Linked DNA regions of Homo sapiens: region 2 is linked to region 1. Evidence: promoter capture Hi-C in human tissues and cell types (Jung and others, 2019). All regions are on one chromosome and are shown on one strand. The core of a region is centred on a gene start or on the middle of the fragment in contact, and the rest is flanking DNA. Distances in the headings are between cores, read along the strand shown.

What was found. The method cuts DNA at HindIII sites, captures the fragments that hold promoters and counts their contacts. A contact is called where the count stands out against the background at its distance.
Region 2: a contact is called between a fragment that was not itself captured here and the fragment with the promoter of FGF23 in region 1, in 2 of the 25 tissues and cell types used here (bladder and pancreas).

The regions. Positions count from the first base shown.
Region 1 is chr12:4,377,857-4,382,599 of GRCh38, reverse strand. FGF23 (fibroblast growth factor 23) reads left to right here and starts at 2,888. Exons shown (of 3, transcript NM_020638.3): 1 at 2,888-3,228. The coding sequence starts at 3,018. The HindIII fragment of the contact is 10,071 bases long and covers 465-4,743 here.
Region 2 is chr12:4,531,502-4,536,244 of GRCh38, reverse strand. It overlaps FERRY3 (FERRY endosomal RAB5 effector complex subunit 3), which reads left to right. Exons shown (of 14, transcript NM_020374.4): 2 at 26-228; 3 at 1,943-2,088. The coding sequence starts at 51. Among named protein-coding and RNA genes, the nearest start is that of FERRY3, 4.6 kb to the left of the region's middle. RefSeq lists an enhancer at 816-875. The HindIII fragment of the contact is 5,337 bases long and covers 2-4,743 here.

The DNA.
Region 1 (4,743 bases), core at 1,639-4,138:
GACACCTGTGCTCCCTCTCCATCATGCTTGGCAGGTGCTGGGGAAAACCCTTCTCTGTGTATCCTACAAAGCTCCCTCAGTTCTCTCCTTCCCTCAAAGCCCTCCTTGACCACAGCATCTACCCACCATGACCTTTTTTTTTTTTTTTTTTGGTGACAGATCCTCGCCCTGTCATCCAGGCTGGAGTGCAGTGGTGCAATCTCAACTCACTGCAATCTCCACCTCCCAGTTCAAGTGATTCTCCTGCCTCAGCCTCCCAGGTAGCTGAGATTACACAATACGCCCAGCTAATTTTTTTGTATTTTTAATAGAGACAGGGTTTCTACTAAACGGGGTTTAGACAGGGTTTCACCGTGTTGGCCAGGCTGGTCTCGAACTCCTGACCTCAAGTGATCTGCCCACCTCGGCCCCCCAAAGTGCTGGGATTACAGGCATGAACCACCACGCCTGGTCAACATTTCTTTTTTGTGAAGGAGCTTGGTAAAAAAGTGCAGGCAGCAAAGCACTCCTCCATGATTCTCTCGGAAACCCAGGTCTTTACCCGGGGTGAATCTCTAGGGTACATAGTGCTTGTCTCCCCAGGGTTGTTTGGAAGATGTATGACATTAAATGTTTATGTATAAAGCAGGCTTCTTTAGTAATGGCCACAGAATGGTTTATAAATATAGTACCACATCTTCACTAATTTGCTCCTAGTAATGAAGCTCCTCCCACACAGTGCCTTGTATTGAACGAAGATGTTCCCTGCTCAGTTACACTGGGAGCCCCTAGAGGAGTTAGTCCTGCTTTGTAGTCCTACACCCTCCCTTTCATCTCTTACATGGAGAAGGTTCTCAATGGCTGCTGATTGCCTTATAATTACTTCCCATCTCTTTACCTTTCACAACCAGAATAAGAAATGCAGGGCAAATGTTCCTAAGTGATTTGCATCTCAATTCTGAAAGCTAGCTATTTCTTCAATTAGCTAAGACGTAGCATTATATTTATAATCCATTCTGTGGCTATTAGTAAAGAAGACTGTTTTACATATAAACATTTCATGTCATACTTCTTCCACTCAACCCTGGGGAGACAAGCACCATGTGTCCTAGAGATTCATCCTGGGTAAAAGCCTGGGTTTTTAGAGAATAACAGAGGACTGCTTTGCCACCTGCACTTTTTTACCAAGCTCCTGGCTCTCATGGCTTTAGCTCTAACATGTTGTATGGGTTTGGACACCTTGAAAAGTGCTTAGGAGGTCTTGGGGCCAGACCTGGATTCAAATCCAACCTCTTCCACATGTTACCTTTCTATCTCTAGGCAAGTTACTTAAACTGTGTGCATAGATCAGTTTCCTGATCTATATAAAGAAAATAACAGCATCTCCTCAAAGAGTTATTCTGAAGATGAAATGGGTTACTACAAGTAAAGCACTTAGAGCAGTAAGTGGAACAGTAAGCTCTCCATGAGCGTTAGTTCTTGCTGTGATTCTTTGGAGAAGCAGCCTAGGGAAGGAGAAGACCTTGTCCTGGCTCTACCATTTATTTGCTTTGTGCCTTTGGACATGGAAACACTAAGATTTCCATTTCTTCATGTAAAGTATTAAAATCTTGATAATGCATGGAGTGCCTATCTCACAGAGTGGCAGTGAGGTTCAAATAAGCTAATAGATGTGAAAATGCTTTGTAAACTATAAAAAAAAACTGTACAAATGTAGGGTAACAAATGCCATCTCTTTCTGTCTATACCTGTAAGCTTGCACTCATTTTGTATTATAGTTACTTATTTTTATCTGCCTCCTGCATTAGATTTGAGCTCCTCAAGATAGGAATCACATCTTGCTGTCTCCTATATCAACCTGTACATGAGTCTAGCTTGATGCCTGTACATGGCATATACTCAGTACAGGGAAACTGGAAGAATAGCAAACTCCTTGTGTGTTTTTTCGGGTGTGTGTTCCAGTAGCTTGCTCCCCTTTAGACTGTATGTGCCAGGACTATTCCACCCGACATCAGGTGTAGCTTCCCAGAGGGCTCACTGTGAACAGCATCTGCAGGCAGGCATCCAACACCAAGCTGAGCACTCATGTACAGACACTAAATGTGGGGACACCCTGTCCTGAGGCTCGGATCCCCAGTGCTCAGCCAGCAGCTGTTCCAATCCCCATGAGGTCTCTGAATGAGTCTCCTTACTACTGGAGAGACTACTAGTTTAGTTGCCCTCGATAGTCCAAACTAGGGAAATTGAGAAATTGAACCTTGGCATATTCAGTGAAGTCCAGACTAAGGAAGCTGAGAAACTGAACCTTGGCATGTTCACTGACCTCAAGGCCTTACTTCTTTTTCTTCCATTTCAAAATCTTCCCAAAATGGCAACTTTGGCTTTTGTGCCCCTGCTCCTAGCTCCCATCTTTCATGAAGTGGGTGTTCTTAGAGGATGCCATCTGCCTGATGGTGTCATGTATCTCTATATCCTGCAAGCTACCCACCAAATCCTGCTCACAGATTAAGCACTGGATACATACTTGCTGATTGGAATTTAAAGAAAACCAAAATAAGTAAACTCGACAGGAGATTAATTGCCTAGGAGTCGGTTGACTGCTTGACTGAAGCTGGATTTTTTTTGGGAACCGCTGGCTGCCTTCACATTTCCTGATGGAAGTGGGACAGGTCAACAGACAGCCCAGAGTGGCAGATAACTTTTGCCCACACGTCATTCATTTTTTGGAGCGTTGGCTTGAAATTGAGGGGTGTGTGTGTCTGGAACCGACGTGCCTTCCGTGCGCCTCCGGGGTCTTTGCACTTTCTTTCAATGGGCTGATTACAACACAGAGGATGTGGACAGTGGAGTTTTTCCTGTTTGATGTCACACTGCTACCCTTTAAAAGTCTGACGGCAAAAAGGAGGGAATCCAGTCTAGGATCCTCACACCAGCTACTTGCAAGGGAGAAGGAAAAGGCCAGTAAGGCCTGGGCCAGGAGAGTCCCGACAGGAGTGTCAGGTTTCAATCTCAGCACCAGCCACTCAGAGCAGGGCACGATGTTGGGGGCCCGCCTCAGGCTCTGGGTCTGTGCCTTGTGCAGCGTCTGCAGCATGAGCGTCCTCAGAGCCTATCCCAATGCCTCCCCACTGCTCGGCTCCAGCTGGGGTGGCCTGATCCACCTGTACACAGCCACAGCCAGGAACAGCTACCACCTGCAGATCCACAAGAATGGCCATGTGGATGGCGCACCCCATCAGACCATCTACAGTGAGTAGGGCTTCAGGCTGGGAAGAAGGGGAGCACCCTTGTTGTCCATCTACAGGAGGCTTGGGGAGGTTGGGGACTAGACTGGAGGGCTAATCCAACCCTCCTAGCTTTCTGCCCAGGAACCACTTATTGTCTTTGTGTGTGTGTGTGTTTGTGTGTGTGTGTGTGTGCGTGTGTATTTAAAACTTAGGGGAAGATTCTGTCACTCTCCTAATTAGCATTTGCTGGTTTTTCTCAATATGAATAATTTTTATTTCAACTAAAACCCTTCCCACAGTAGGAGCCATGTTCCCTTTGCCCCGTCAAAAGATTGAAAAAATGTACAGAAAGAAAGGCAAGGAGTCTAAGAGAAAAAGAAGCCAGGCAGATCAACAGACACTAAGTTTCAGCTCATGGACTTTGGACTGGGTTAACTAGGGAGGTTGTAAAGATTCCTGGGTCATACCCAGATTGTTATAGATAAATCTGGGGGCTCTTTCCAACTCTGGCCTTATAAAAATTCTTGGAAAAATGTATTAAAGACAGACTGTCCATGTATGTTGTCTTGGTGAGAATGGCCAAGTATACAACCCATCCACCCATTCATTTGTCCATGCATCCATCCATCCATCCATCCATCCATCCATCCATCCATCCATCCATCCATCCAACAGGTTTAATGGGTGTTTCAGACACCCAGGTACCCAGGTACCCAGTATGAGTTGGTGATTCTTCTCTGTGGAACTGAAAGGTGTCCAGTCAGTAGCAAGTCAAGCTAGTTAGAAACTTATTGGCAACATGAGACAACTGGAATGTTTTTAAAGATCAGGTTTGTGGAGAATTGGATCACAATCCACAATAATCAATCCATTAGCAATGATTCAAATGAGGGTCCCTTTGTGTGCACCTATATAAGGGGTAATGTGGTGAAAGCAGGGATAGATATTGAAAAAGACTGGATCTTCTATTTTAAGAAAACGTGAGAAAACACCTCAAAGCATACAGAAAAATGCAAACTGATCCAATATAGCTCAAATTAAAGGAAAGAAAAATTAGTTAGACAATCTCTAACTAAAGAAAACATAGGAATTATGATTTGCCCTTTATTGTTGTAATAAATAAATTAATTATTTTTGCTGTGACCTTGCTGTGTGTGAGGCATTTATTCTTCTAGGCTCCAAAGGTCCTTAAACCTGGTTGCAAGATATACAACATGCAAAATTAAGTTGCAAGATATATAACATGCGAAATTGACAGTTTAACCTCTTCAAGTACTAAATGCATATTGACAGGAGATAAAAGGAGAGAGGAAAGTTCTCTCCGAATACCAAACAGGTTCCAGAACTCCAGAGAATATAGTAAGACTCAGGAGTCAACATCTTGGAAACCAAGTTTGAGTCTCATGGCAAAAATTTCAATTAAATCTGGATACACTTGATGCACCCGAAGTGTTGTTCATTTTATTCAATGGATATTTAATAGGATCTACCATGTGCCTGGCATTCTACCAAGCGCTGTGGCTGAAAACTAAGACAC
Region 2 (4,743 bases), core at 1,421-3,920, 150 kb before region 1:
TTATAACCTACTGCTTTTTTGTTAGTTCTGTAGAAATCCTGTCAAAGAATATGAAGAAAAACAGAGAAAGATTCTGCAATAGAGAGAGAGAATTTGTATATAAATTTAAAGTAGGAAGTCAGTGCTTAGAACTGAGAGTGCCACTCAAATTTCCTGTTCAAGAGAATGCCAGTCATTTGCATGGACGTCTGATGCTGCTGCACAGTTTACCGTGCTTTATAGAAAAAGGTGAGGACTGTTTTTTTTTTTAAGTAACACCACTTTATTAGTTTCAATAGTCTGTCATTGGAAGTTTCATATTAGAAAGCATAAACCTAAGAAGCTTTGGAAACAGCCATAACATAGGAACTGATTCCAAGAATAAAAACATTTCTCCAGAGCTTTCTTTTATTGAGTGTTTTTTCCTATAAGTGGTAGTTGTTTATAAAATATAAAAATTAGATTTTATAATGAAAAATTAGCTACAAAGTTTGGAATTAGAGGAGCTCTTCTGAATTTAGTTGGGTGAAGTTATAAGGCAGTTTAGCTATCGCTAATTGTGCTAATAGAATTATAGTGCTAAATTGGTTGCCCTTTTAATAATCTGGTCATTAATTTCTGAGATGCCATAGAACAGAAAGTGTACTAATTTTTGAATAGTCTTTGCTTACCTAAATTAGTTTTATAAAGTTAGATGTATTAAACCATTTTTAAAGGTCTGTGCTCTATCTCACAGTCTAGGAAAAATTTAAAATTCAGAATATGTTAGATCACAGGTTAGAGTTATAAGAGAACCTAGAAACTTTATAGCCCAATCACATTGTACAAACAAGGAAACTGGAACATAAAGAGGTTAAATTATTTACCCTAGGCAGTGGTTCTTGAAATATGGTTTCTAATCATTTAGCAGCAACAGCATCACCTGCAAGCTTGTTAGACATGCAAATTCTCGGGCTGCATCCCATTTCTGCTGAATCAGAAACTAGGGTAGCATGTGGCAGTCTGTTTAAATAAGGCCTCCAGGGGTTTCTAATGCACACTTAAGATTGTGAACCACAGTCTAAAGTCGCGAACATAGTGATAATAATAGAGCCAAAGCCAGAACACAGGTGTCCTAACTTCTCTCTCAGTGCTCTTCCGTTATATCATTCTCTAAGTGGTGTCTGTAAAACTGAAATCGGTCAGTCATCTAAGTTAAATGTGTTAATAAGCTAGTCATTTAACTTCTCTTTCAAAGGATGTAACAATGTACCCTTTAAAGTTACATGGAAAACTCTTTTTAATGTAAATACAGTAATGTTCAGACCTTCAAAATCTGTAGCATTTTCTTTATGTCCTTATACCCACTTGGCTTCAAACTGAAATATCAGGCTTAAGAAAGTAACATTACTTTATTAGTATCAAGGGAATACGTAAGAGTTAAGACTTTTGACCTTTCTCTATGCAATAGCCTGTAATAGTAAAGGAAAATAATCATGAAATTAGTTAAATGATCCCCTAAGCTGATTTCATTTTAGTTGGAGATTCTATTAAGAGTATCAGCTTGATAAAATAAAATTTCATGTCTGGGCAAGGTGGCTCACACCTGTAATCCCAGCACTTTGGGAGGCTAAGGCAGGTGAATCACTTGAGCTGACGAGTTCAAGACCAGCCTGGGCAACATGGTGAGACCTATCTTTACCAAAAATACAAAAATTAGCCATGCATGGTGGCATGCACCTGTGGTCCCAGCTACTCGGGAGGCTGAGGTGGGAGGATCACTGGAGTCCGGGAATTCAGGGCTGCAGTGAACTGTGATCATGCCACTGCACTCCAGCCTGTGTAACAGAGAGAGAGACCCCATCTCTAAATAAAAAATAAAAATTTAACAATAAGATTTCACATTGGAATTCTCAGCCAAGTAAAATGTTCCCTATTTATACCTGGATTTTGCTGACGATGGTGTTTGATGTCCCTGTAACAGACTTAAAAGAAGCTCTGACTCAGTTTATAGAAGAAGAATCCCTCAGCGATTATGATAGAGATGCTGAAGCATCCCTGGCAGCTGTGAAATCAGGTGAAGTAGATTTACATCAGCTGGCGAGTACATGGGCCAAAGCTTATGCTGAGGTAAGAAAATAGGTCAGATTGTAAATTTCAAGGATATTCTGGATTTTGGTGAAAATTTTTAAAATGCTGTGGTAATCCTGAAATCGTTATAAGATCCTTTTTCTCCACATACAATATTCTATAATGTATATGTTGCTGCTTCTGTGCTTCCTATATCAGGGTGAGCACATAAGACAAAATGCTATTTATGTAATACCTTTGTAAAACAAGAGGCTACTTGCATATATCTCACCAGCACAGGGTCTCCAGATTTAGTAATTAAAAATATAGGACACCCAGTTAAGTTAGAATTTCAGATAAATGAATATTTTTTAGTATATCAACATATTACATGGAACATATTTATACTAAAAAAAATTGTTCACTATTTATCTGAAATTCTAATTTAAGTGAGTGTTCTGTGTTTTATCTGGCAACCCTAAATCAGCAACAGCATTCATGTAACCTTTGGTTTACTTTTATAAACTTATCTTCATTATTGTTGTGTAGTCACATCATATCATTTTCTATTTAAATAATATACCCTGTTTCATAAAGTCTAAGATGCCATTAGGTATATCACAAATGATTTTATTTACTAAGAAAGAGCACTGCAAATTAAACTATGAGAGAATGCCAAGATGACATCAAGTATAAGAGGCAAAGAAAAGACTCAAAAATATCCATTGTATTTATCAAGTAATCTTGTCTGTGGCAAGATCAGTTTCGGTAAGTTGGTGGTGGTGGAAATGAGATTTCACTGACTCTAAGCATGTGGGAGTGTGGAAATAGGAAGAATTAGTATACTAACTGAAGAAGTTCGAATATAAAGAGGTGAAGGATGGGGCACTGGCTAAATGGGAACACAAGGTCAGAGGTTTGTTTGTTTGTTTTTTAAGGCGGCAAAGTTTAGGACTAGAAGGGATAGAATCCAGAACTCAAATGGAGAATTAATCATAACTGGGAAGACAGATGCTTCTCCACTTACAGCCAAAGAGAAGCAGGAAAGGTTGGATATAAATTCAGATAATTTTATTAATTTGGTAGCAGGAAGTTGAGAATATTCTCTTCTGAGTGTTTCAACTTTAAGGAAAGACAGGTTATTTGTTTAGATGAGGCAGTAGGTATAAAAAGATTGTTGGATATTTAAGGAGAAAACCGAGCAGCGAATGATAGGATTGCCAGGCATCATTGAGGCCAAGATTAAGAGTGGCACCAGTTTGTCACCATAAACTTTATAGAGTTTTGTGATTTTTCTGCTACAGCTCTCTAAAGCCCGACTGCAGGCATAGAGAAGAGGAATAAGATGAGGGTTTTGTTAGGTGGGTAATATAAGGTACATCAGTCAAGGGAGTTGAGGATATCGGCAAGACAGTGGTTGAATGCTAGATCACAAAATGTAAGCTACATAGGGAAAGAAGTGAAGCTAAGTGGCAGTTGATGGCTGATTTAAAAAAAAATGAAAACATTGAGAAACTTATGAAGTGGAGGTCCTGATGAGGTTAAATATCAATTACCTGGGGATTATTGAGCGAGAAATCTTGGGTGGAGGTTGTAGTCAGAGACTAGAATGTTTGAATACTGACGGACTGAGTTTCTGGTGAGGATACTAAATGGATGGCTGAGGTGGTGTGGAGAACTAGTAAATGTTGCAGGTAAACGATGACTATCTGGGCTGGTGGTACAGGGGTAAAAGAATTTACCAAGACAGTTGTAGATAAAGAAAGGTAGGTTTATTAGAGAAAGTAGGAAAATATGTTGCGAGGAGGCAATGGGCAGGCCAACAGAAGAGAAGCTGACTTCAAGGAAACAAAGGCTTGCTGGAGATTTTATAGGACAGCGTTTATGCTGTATGCTGTACAGTGCTGTGTGCAGTACTGATAACCCCAAGACTGCAGTGAGCTGCAGTCTTGCAGCTATCTTGCAGGTGTCTGGTGAAAGGTGAGTGCAGGAGGGCTACGTGGCCTGGACCAGGGGTGTCCAATCTTTTGGCTTCCCTGGGCCACACTGGAAGAAGAATTGTCTTCGGCCACACATAAAATACATTAACATGAGGGATAGCTGATGAGCTAAAAAAAAAAAAAAAAAAAAATTCACAATTTATGAATTTGTGTTGGGCGGCATTCAAAGCCATCCTGTGCCACAGGTTGGACAAGCTTGGTCTGGACCATGAGGAAAGGCAGACTTATAGCTTATCTGCTTTCTCTTTTTGCTTTCCCCTGGTCCTGCCAGCCTGATTCCTTTTCCCTAATTGGGACTCCACAGTAAAGATTGTAGAGTTCGGGAAAGTAAGAAGGCAGTGCCTTGGATGGGTTTCCACATGGATATCCAAGTAACCCAGGTTGATGGCAGGATGTGGGGCAGAGAGGAATTCTTTGAACTTGGTGCCAAAGCTTTACAGGAATGAGGGTGAGTGACAGACAGGTAGGTTGTTAGATAATGATGGCCATGAAAGATAAGGGGTGCTGAATGGTTTGAACCTCAAAGAAGTCAGGCGTTATGCCTGAAAGTGGAGGTGGAGAAATAATGGCCTGGACATTGAATCGCTTTCTCTCTGCAGTCACTTCCTCAGTGCCCCATTCCTCTCAGCCGTCCCAGTCCCCTTTCTAGTAGCATCTGTCCTGAGGGAGTGGCGTAAATTAGGTCAAGGAAAAACCTATGCTTAGTTCTTCTCAC